Linked DNA regions of Homo sapiens: regions 2 and 3 are each linked to region 1. The links are contacts of gene promoters, found by promoter capture Hi-C in blood cells and fetal thymus (Javierre and others, 2016). All regions are on one chromosome and are shown on one strand. The core of a region is centred on a gene start or on the middle of the fragment in contact, and the rest is flanking DNA. Distances in the headings are between cores, read along the strand shown.

Region 1 (3,078 bases), core at 222-2,721:
CAGCCGGACGTGGTGGCGCATGCCTGTAATCCCAACTACTCGGGAGGCTGAGGCAAGAGAATCGCTTGAACCCGGAAGGTGGAGGTTGCGGTGAGCCTGAGATCGTGCCATTGCACTCCAGCCTGGGCAACAAGAGCGAAACTCCGTCTCAAAAATCAAACAAAAAAAAGTTCTATGGTTTGAAGAGATATAAGGAAAGGAAGAAAGGGACGTGGCATGAGGCAGGCAGGGGAACATTTGTGTTCTTCCCCACACAGCAGCCAGATTGTTACTTTCTCAACACATCTGAGAGCATCACTCCCTGGCTTAAATAGTTATGTCTGAGCACTTTACATGTATTAACTCGTTTTATCCTTACTGTAGTTCTGAAGTTAGTCCAGGTTTTTTGTTTTTTGTTTTTTTTTTTTTAAGATGGAGTCTTGCTCTGTTGCCCAGGCTGGAGTACGGTGGCACAATCTCGGCTCACCACAAGCTCCGCCTCCCGGGCTCAAGCAATTCTCCTGCCTCAGCCTCCCAAGTAGCTGGGATTGCAGGCGCGTGCCACCACACCTGGTTAATTTTTGTATTTTTAGTAGGGACAGGGTTTCACCATGTTGGCCAGGCTGGTCTCCAACTCCTGACCTCAGGTGATCCGCCCGCCTCAGCCTCCCAAAGTGCTGGTACTATAGACGTGAGCCACCGTGCCCTGCCCAAGTGCAGTTATTATCCTTGTTTTGTATTTGATGAAACTGAGGCAGAGAGAGGTCGAGTAACTTGCCCAAGATCACAGTTACAAAGTGACGTGGGTAGGATTCAAACCCAGCAGGCTGCCTCTAGAGTTCACGTTCTCACTTAACCAAAGATTAAAATCCGTCTTGGGGGGTTTGACACCTATCTGTCCCTGCAGTAGACCCACCCTGGCCCATGCAGTTCGTTCCCTCTCGCCAGCTGCACCCCCTCCAGGACCTGGGAGCCCAGAAACCAGCCGAGCCTCCAGCGTTTGGCCTCCTCCGCCACCAGAGGGCGTCATGGGCCGATCGCCCCTCCGCTAACCGCTCATCCCAGGAAAAAGGGGCGCACAGAGGACAGGATGCCAACCCCAAAACCGCAGCGACGTCTCTCTGCCTTGGGGCTCACAGCAGCGGGCCGCGACCTCCCACTAACGCCTGCCGCAACCCAAGGAGGAGACAAAAGTCATCTTCCGGGCTGCAACATTAACCGTCATCAGCGCGCCTCTTCAGCGCGCACTGCGCCAACCCTGCGGCAGGAGGAGGCGGAGCCCCCGCTCTCGCCCCGCCCCCACCTCACGTGACCCGCACGGCGCCTCGAGGCCGGAAGCGATTGCGAGCCAGCGCGCGCGCTTCGGCGTTCCCGGCGGTCTGCGAAGTTTCCGGAGCCCGGGTCCCGCCGCGGGTTCGCGCTTGTGCTCGCGCTCGTTCCTGGAGTCGGCGGCCGCTGCGCGCGCTCGTTGCCCAACCCGGTCCCCGCCCCCAGACACGCCGGGCTCTCGGGGCACCACAGCCATGTGCTCGTTAGCGTCAGGCGCTACCGGTGGGTACCCTGGCCCCTCAGCACCCGGCTCGTCCAGCCCCAGGCCGCGCCGCTGTGGGGCCGGTGGAAGACCCTCCGGGACACGGGCCCGGGCAGGGTGGGGGGCTCGCAGGGATCATGAAGGAGGTGCTGAGTGAGGGCCGCGGGCGAACGGGGCGGAGGAGAGCCCATCGTCACCTGCTCCTCGAGCCCCCGGGCCGCACCGGTGTCCGAGGCCGATCTGATTGTTGTGTGTGTGTGTTAGGCGGCCGGGGCGCTGTGGAGAATGAGGAGGACCTGCCAGAACTGTCGGACAGCGGGGACGAGGCCGCCTGGGAGGATGAGGACGATGCAGATCTCCCCCACGGCAAGCAGCAGACCCCCTGCCTGTTCTGTAACAGGTTCGTCCGCCTCAGCGCCTGGCCTCTGCCCTAGGGTGCCCGGGCGCGTGGGGTCTGTGTGCCCAGGAACGCCTTCGGGCGGGAGGCAAGCCAGAGTGGCCTGTCTTTGAATTCTGGAACCACTGGTCTGGGGTGAGGGCTTGTGGAGAAGGAGGACCCTCGGTAGTAGAGAGGGGGAACCGTGAACTGGAAGGCCGGTTGTACTGCAAGCTTTTGACTGGTAGTGCATTGAATCTGTGGTTCCCAAATCTTGTCACTTGAGACGCTGAAAACAAAATGATACTGAACTCTGCACCTGAATCCTTCCAAGTCAGGGATGGGGTCTAAGAATATTCTGTTTTTATGAGGACAAGATCGGAAGTAACAGTGAAGTTACTAACGAGTTACTACTAACGAGTAACATATTTGGCAGCCACCCTGAACTAGATAATCCCTACGGAGCCTTCCGGCTTTACCATGCTAATTCTTTGACCAGTACAGAGCTTCTCAGGTGAAACATTTCTTTTTTATTTGAGCGGTTTCCATAGTCTAAGAAGGAAGTTCACCTTACTTAAGTAGGACTTTTCACTTAAGGAAAAAGACTGTAGTATCAATAATTTGCTCAAGGTCACAAAGCTGTGGTGTGCTTATTTCCAAACTCACATTCTTGCCACTTAAAATTCTGCCTGTTAGTCTTGGGAAGCTTTGGCTCCTGTCCTAGGCAAGTAGGCATGAAAGAGGCCCGGTTGGCATTGGCCGGTGTTACTTTAATACATTTTCCAGTGTTCCCTGTATCTGGGCATGGTGCTGAGTGGTGGTGCGTTAGTGTTCTCATCTGTAGCCCCATTGGGTAGATAGAATGCCTGTATATATTCTAGTTGTCATAAAATATTTATTGAGCACCAGTGGTACCGTGGCTGTGATAGCCTCCATAAATAGTCGACATAACCTATCTCGGTAAACATTTGTGGAAAACTAATGCTCCACATGTGTTAGGAATATAGATAAGGTATACAGCTTCTCTGCTGTGTATTCCTGTCTTTAAGTAGCCTTCAGATTTGCATGTCACATAATAAAGAGGATTGATCCTCACAGTGTCTGTGATGCAAGTACGTTGGGAATACTACAAGATCACTTTTGAAATAAGGCACTTGGGGAGTATGCCAGCTGTAAAATTACATTTTATGCT
Region 2 (3,078 bases), core at 147-2,646, 7.0 Mb after region 1:
CAAGTGGCCATTTGTGAACAAGATATTTATTACAGCATGGTTTTCCTAATGGATAGTGGTAGAAAAACCAGGATAAAGCTGAATAAACAGCAGGCCCAGAGCACATTGTAAAATATTCCAGGAAAACGCTTCTCATTATCTTGTCTGAAGCTAACTTTGAGCTTAATCTCAGTTCTGACCAATACCCTTGAAGGTCAATGCATCCTCTAAACATGGCACTATTTATACCAAAAATACCTTGAGGTAATATCCATTATGTGCAGCTGATGCCTGAGCCTAGCTCAAAGAAGCCTTACCCGATTCGTTTTGCCAGTCAGATCAATATGGCAGGTGAGGCATGGAGAAAAGGCATAAAATCCCACACAGCTCTAGGTTGCTCTCTGCTTCACACAGAATACTCAAAACCCAGAACAATGAAAGGGCTGACTCAGGTTGCCTGCTCTCTTCATCCTGTCACCCCCAAGCTGTCCAGGGCACCAAAGAGAGGTCAGCAGTTTGACCTCAAAAGCCAGATTGTGGACTCCAGAACTCTTATCCCAAACCTGAACACCAGAACGTGGTTTACTGCACCTTAGTAGTACCTGTGGTTGGTTATTCTGAAAACATACTGATTGCTAGTGAAGTAGGTTGTAGTAAACAGGTCACTTTTTATAACACAAAGTGCTGAAGCACAGAGATTAGCAATGTCAACCTCAGCATGTGGAGACATGGTTAGATAGGATCTGAGCATGCACAGAGGAATGGATGTCATTGTATCAAAGAATGTTAGGACCAATGGAGAGAAAGAATGAGGAAATTTTCTAAAAATCTACCTTTCCTGAAAGGAAGTGCTAAGTTTCTGAAGCATTTGACAATAATCACTGCATGTATCTGTTCTTTAGGAAGTGGGAAATGGACATGCAGTCAGCAAACGTTTATTGAGCACCTAATAAGCATCTGACACTTGCCACACACAATGCTTGACAACTTCAGCATTCTCTTTTCAAACCCACGTCCCAGCTACTCCTTTGATTCATAGGGACTGAAATGTGATAAGGAAGGCAGCCTTAGCCCTGTGGTGCTACCAGCTCATTCTGGCTTTGGATAAGTGAGACGTACATACGTTCACCTCCTCCCCTGGCAGGCTCCACTTAGTCAGGGCTTTGGCTCTTGGAAACTAATGCAAGGTTTCAGTAGCTGAGCTATAGTTCCGATGGTCATTTATTCCGCAGGTCACTAACTTGTGTCCAGATTGCTTAGTCCAGTTGATTATGCTCAGAAAGTATTTCCTAAAGCCTTCAAATTTACTTTAAATACCTTTGAGACCAACTCAGTCCTGAAGAATACCTACAAAGGCCCAGATGAAAACAATTTACTGAAACCCTAACTCTACCATTAAATTTTACTATCAGGTTGATCAGAGGAGGCCTGTTTCTTGTTGCTACAACCAGCCTGGATGAGTGGCTTGCTTGGTTACTCTTTCTGATCTCCATTCCCACCAATGTACTTACTTTTACTTCTCATTCGTAACTAATTCACTCCTGTAACCATGTATACGGGTTACTTCATATGGGTTCCATATTCCATTCACTCATGCTGGATATGAACACCCTGTACTGAAGGGGGAATCTTGCTATTTACACATAAAGCATGAGTTCTCTGGCCTGTATTTCTTAGAGCTCCTGTACTGTGCCTTACACAGCTTGACAATCATAAACTTGTAAATGATTTCCGAAGAAAACGTAATGAGTCTATCCCAGAATAGACCTGCATTACTGGGCCTGTCTCAGAAATATTCCTTCAGGGATTGGCCCTTTGCTCCTACTTCTGTATACCCAATACTAGGCATGCAGTTTAGGAAAGAGAACATGATCTGTCTATCTTCGTAGTAGACCCAGGTCTGCTAATAACTAGGTGCATGCCTTTGAGTCACTTTTTGCATTCTGAGCCATGGTTTTATTATCTGTAAAATAAGTGGATTGATTTAGGCTTCAATTCATGAGAGTAGAGACCAGTATCTTGTTTACGGTCCCCAGTACGTAGACTAATATGTGGCAAACAATGTTTGCTGAGTGAGTAACAGTAGAAATAAACAAATTAAGACAGTTTTAATAACCCCATTGGTCCTAACATTGATACAATGACATCCATTCCTCTGTGCATGCTCAGATCCTCTCTAACCACGTCTCCACATGCTGAGGTTGACATTGCTAATCTCTGTGCTTCAGCACTTTATGTTATAAAAAGTGACCTGTTTACTACAACCTACTTCACTAGCAATCAGTATGTTTTCAGAATAACCAACCACAGGTACTACTAAGGTGCAGTAAACCACGTTCTGGTGTTCAGGTTTGGGATAAGAGTTCTGCAGTGCACAATCTGGCTTTTGAGGATTCATAGAACGCCTGAAATGGTAGCAGAGTTTTGTGTGTTTGAGACTATGTACATTTTTCTGGGAAGTGAGACTGCAGCAATCATAATATCTCAGGAAAAAAGGATTAAGAGCCATAGGAAATCTATGGTCATTTGCAAGAATTTGCACAGGGCTCTTTATGTGCAAAAAAAACCACGGCACCTCAGTCTGCAAGTGCCTGCTCTGCCTTTGGGGCGGAGGGCAGGAGGATGTTAGAAGGGGGTACTTAAGAGGGTCTAAGGAATCTTGAAAAGGGCTGAATCGGCCGGGCGGCCTCGGGTTTACCTGGCGCACCCCTGTAACTCCATTCCTCTCAGGCTCGCCACTTTGGCCTCTGAATCATGGGCATCTTCATCCACGTCTTCCTCATCATCCACGTCTTCCTCATCCTCCCCGTCACCGTCGTCCTCGTCAAACTGGAAGCTCTGGTGGCCAAGGGGAGACAACAGCGACCTGGTGGAATTGCTGCAGCTCAGCGGCAGCGGCGGCGACGGCGAGCGCACCACCTCCAGCCCCTGCCCACGTGCGCCCGTCATAGGGACTGAGCAGGAGTCCGAGGAGGGCCGAGACCTGGGTCTGCAGTCAGCAGAGAAACCGGCGTAGGAAGAGGGAAAAGTAGGCCCCCAGCGCCCCGCCGCCCACATCTGGCCCGCCAAGTTCAAACTGGCGGAGCCGCGGCGGGGACG
Region 3 (3,078 bases), core at 579-3,078, 6.9 Mb before region 1:
CCAAGTGAAGACCCCCAACTTGCCCTCTATATGCCTAAAAAACACCTCTTACTTAGCTTTGACCTCTAGCACTCCCATTCCCCATAACCCAACTAGGTATGAATCAGATTATGTGATTAAATTACTTCACATTAATGGGTAAATGAGGCTTAATCCACAAAGGTCAATTCCACACGTCATTAAACTCTACTATGTATAAGGCACTAAGTTTAATCAATTAATATACCTATCCTTCTTACAAGAAAAACTAACACAAATCAATCTTTTAATGAACAATGTAAGGAAGGGGCACAAGAGTGTTTGCTTCACATCACACTTTCTCCACCCAGTTCTTTCCATCCTGTTGCCAAACCCCTCCAATCTCCATCTGGCATGGAATAAAATCCAAGGGATCAGTATTTCTTCCAGTAAGTCAATGCCTAGGAAGACAATGTGGGATAGCACAGCAAACAATAAACATTCAAATCCTGAAATGGACTGTAGAGGGTCTCTTGTATTTAATTTTATATATTAGCTGCAAATACAATAAAGAGCTTCTAAATAATTCAATTTCTGTACAAGATACCTATAAATCAGCTTTGCTCAGAACTCTGAGTTTTTAAACCATAAATACTGAGATGCTTTTTCTTCAGTTATTTCCACAGTTAAAACGTTTATAGTAAATACCAGTTCAAATTGCCCTACTATAACTATACTTAAAGGCTATTAAACTTAACTACTGTTTTCAATTAGATGTGACATTTTTCCCAAGACCCCTTAAGTTTGAAACTCCAAACTTGCTTTAAACCTCCTTTTTTTCCAGTCATAAAATTTATTAATTTTGATTTATAACAGAGCTTCTAAACTGGAGAGGAGAATACAACTATGGACAGGTTTGGATTTGATTCAGTCACATGATATTTTTAATGGTTTTAATTAGTTGTCAATATTTTTAAGACGCAAGACACTGAATGCAAAAATCTAGATTTCCGAGTTCTCTTGAGAATGCTGAAGATGGGGTCCATATTCTTATATAGCACTGATTAGGGGGACCTGAGACTTGGATGTCTCTCTGATAAGGCATAGTGCATTTCCCTCATTTTCATTATCTAACTAGTACCCGAAGGCATGTGAGTTTGTTGCTCATGCTATGGCTTTGAAAGGTGCACAATATTTTCCATATCACTTCCATACTTCCCTAAGTCACCTATTATAAAAAGCCAAAAGCAGACCACAGTGGTTTGCAACTCCATAGTTAATAATTTAAAAAATTCACATGGCTTAGAGGGAGTGAGAAAGAAGAAAATTCAGACTGGTGGAAGGGTAACATAATTACATAGGGTTAGAAGTCTATCTGAAAGCTTTTCTGGGAGTGAGAAAAAAGGTGAACGAACACAAAAACATTGTTGAAACACTAAAAGCTTTCCTGATTGAACACTGTTACTCTCTGGTGGTTCCTTACCACATTCCATGCTTCAGAAACTTCCTTCCTACTTTGTATGTATTAATATAATAGCTGTTAGGTCATACACGCTGAGAAATATTGGGAAAATTTATAAAACACATTTACATCATCAGAAATAATTCTTCTCACACTTTTTTTTTTTTTTTTTTTACCAGTCTTGGTCCACTTTCAAATCCCTTCCCAAGTATTTTCTACTGCTTTCCGCTTTATATTCAAATGACAACTGCAGTCCTGGGTTTCAGGACTGAACTTCAATCCTGGACAGGCTCTCTAATACAGAAACTCTTTTGGCCGTTATGGCTGCATTCTTTATTATATCTCTTATTCCGATTTCCACAGTCTCTTTCATTGAAAATTTATCCCTAACCCCCTCTCTAAAAGATTTTGATCAAATTTGTGTAGTTGGGGGGTTGGGAGGATAGGGGCGGGAAGGAACTCAGTTGTCCAAATACAATTAATATCCTGTGCTGTTTCATTTAGATTGCTAATTTAAATAAAAAGCATGAAAACTCTGCAAGATAATAAATCTTCGTAAAATAATCTTGTTTACTAAGTGCACAAAGCCACAAGCAAGTGAAGCTCTATCTTTCAGCATGTCTGGACTAGTGACTTTTCATCATGGACTCAGAATACTGAGAAAGGAGAAGCAGGAAATCTGTGAGGCCCAGGGACAGTCACACTGGCCCACACTAACAAATTACTAACCGATGTCTCACCTTCCCCCGCCCCATTCCCAAAGATAAGGGTGTCAGGGCACCTGCATCTGAAGAAGAAAGACATCAGAACCTTTTCCGTGCAAGTTTTAAGAAAACAAAGCTTTACCACACGTAAAATGGTTACAACATAAAACCACGCAGCACGTTAGTGGGGTCTCACTCCTCTTCACCCAGAGGGAGGCTGCCCACCACCTTATCCCCTATTGTGATGCGCCTTCCTCAGGATGTCGCTGCGTTCGTCTGAGATGACAGGAAAGGGGCGGGGCACGGGGTTCCTCTGCCCTGGAAAGGGATGAGGGTATCGCCTTCATCCCCGGAGAAAGGCCCCCGGACTCCCAACCCAAAAGCAGCAGCCGCAAAACTCAAGTCTTATCCCGGCCTCTCCTAATTGGGTGCTCGTGGCCGGAGCCCAAAACGCCACCCACGGTACCCGAGCAGGGTCCGGCCGCCCAGACCACCGCCGCAGCAGCCTGGCTCTCACGCCCAGATTCGCCCTCCGCCCCTTTCCTCTTTCGCCCCGGCCAAGCCCAGCCTCCCGCGCCGCCCCCGCCGAGTTCCCCAGCTGAGTCCACTCACTCTCGAACCTGTAGTCCCCCTTCAGTGCCCACACAAGATTGGGGCAAAGGCCGGGGCCAGTGACACCTCCACTTCCTCCTCAGCCAGATCCCTCCGGAGGTGGCTGTGGAGGAAGCCACTGAGGCGGCTGCGCGTAGCGGAGCCGCCCCGGCAGGTTGCAGGCCGGCTCCTCAGCCTCTTACCGCGAGAGCTCACAATGCGAAGAGGCGAGGCCAGCAGCGTTCTCGCGAGAACGGTGCTCTCCGCCCAGGGGTGGGCGGGGCACCGAAGGAGAAGGCAGTTGAGGGCGCGGCGGCCACGGGTGGGATCTCAGGCGCGTGGAGAGGAAGGCGCCGCGCGACC

The links. Contacts are between HindIII fragments. The CHiCAGO score rates a contact against its expected background, and 5 or more counts as called.
Region 2: a fragment that was not itself captured here is called in contact with the fragment with the promoter of PRMT3 in region 1 in 1 of 17 cell types (total CD8 T cells); the score reaches 9.7 in total CD8 T cells.
Region 3: a fragment that was not itself captured here is called in contact with the fragment with the promoter of PRMT3 in region 1 in 1 of 17 cell types (total B cells); the score reaches 5.4 in total B cells.

Annotation. Positions count from the first base shown.
Region 1 is chr11:20,386,245-20,389,322 of GRCh38, forward strand. It overlaps PRMT3 (protein arginine methyltransferase 3), which reads left to right and starts at 1,472. Exons shown (of 16, transcript NM_005788.4): 1 at 1,472-1,530; 2 at 1,775-1,910. The coding sequence starts at 1,503. RefSeq lists enhancers at 1,180-1,349, 1,223-1,830, 1,831-2,437, 2,293-2,342 and a silencer at 1,183-1,742. The HindIII fragment of the contact is 3,061 bases long and covers 1-2,118 here.
Region 2 is chr11:27,360,159-27,363,236 of GRCh38, forward strand. CCDC34 (coiled-coil domain containing 34) reads right to left here and starts at 3,057. Exons shown (of 6, transcript NM_030771.2): 1 at 2,678-3,057. The coding sequence starts at 3,036. RefSeq lists silencers at 864-1,158, 3,004-3,073 and an enhancer at 2,451-3,078. The HindIII fragment of the contact is 3,738 bases long and covers 1-3,078 here.
Region 3 is chr11:13,460,356-13,463,433 of GRCh38, forward strand. BTBD10 (BTB domain containing 10) reads right to left here and starts at 2,867. Exons shown (of 9, transcript NM_032320.7): 1 at 2,737-2,867. RefSeq lists an enhancer at 3,047-3,078. The HindIII fragment of the contact is 860 bases long and covers 1,399-2,258 here.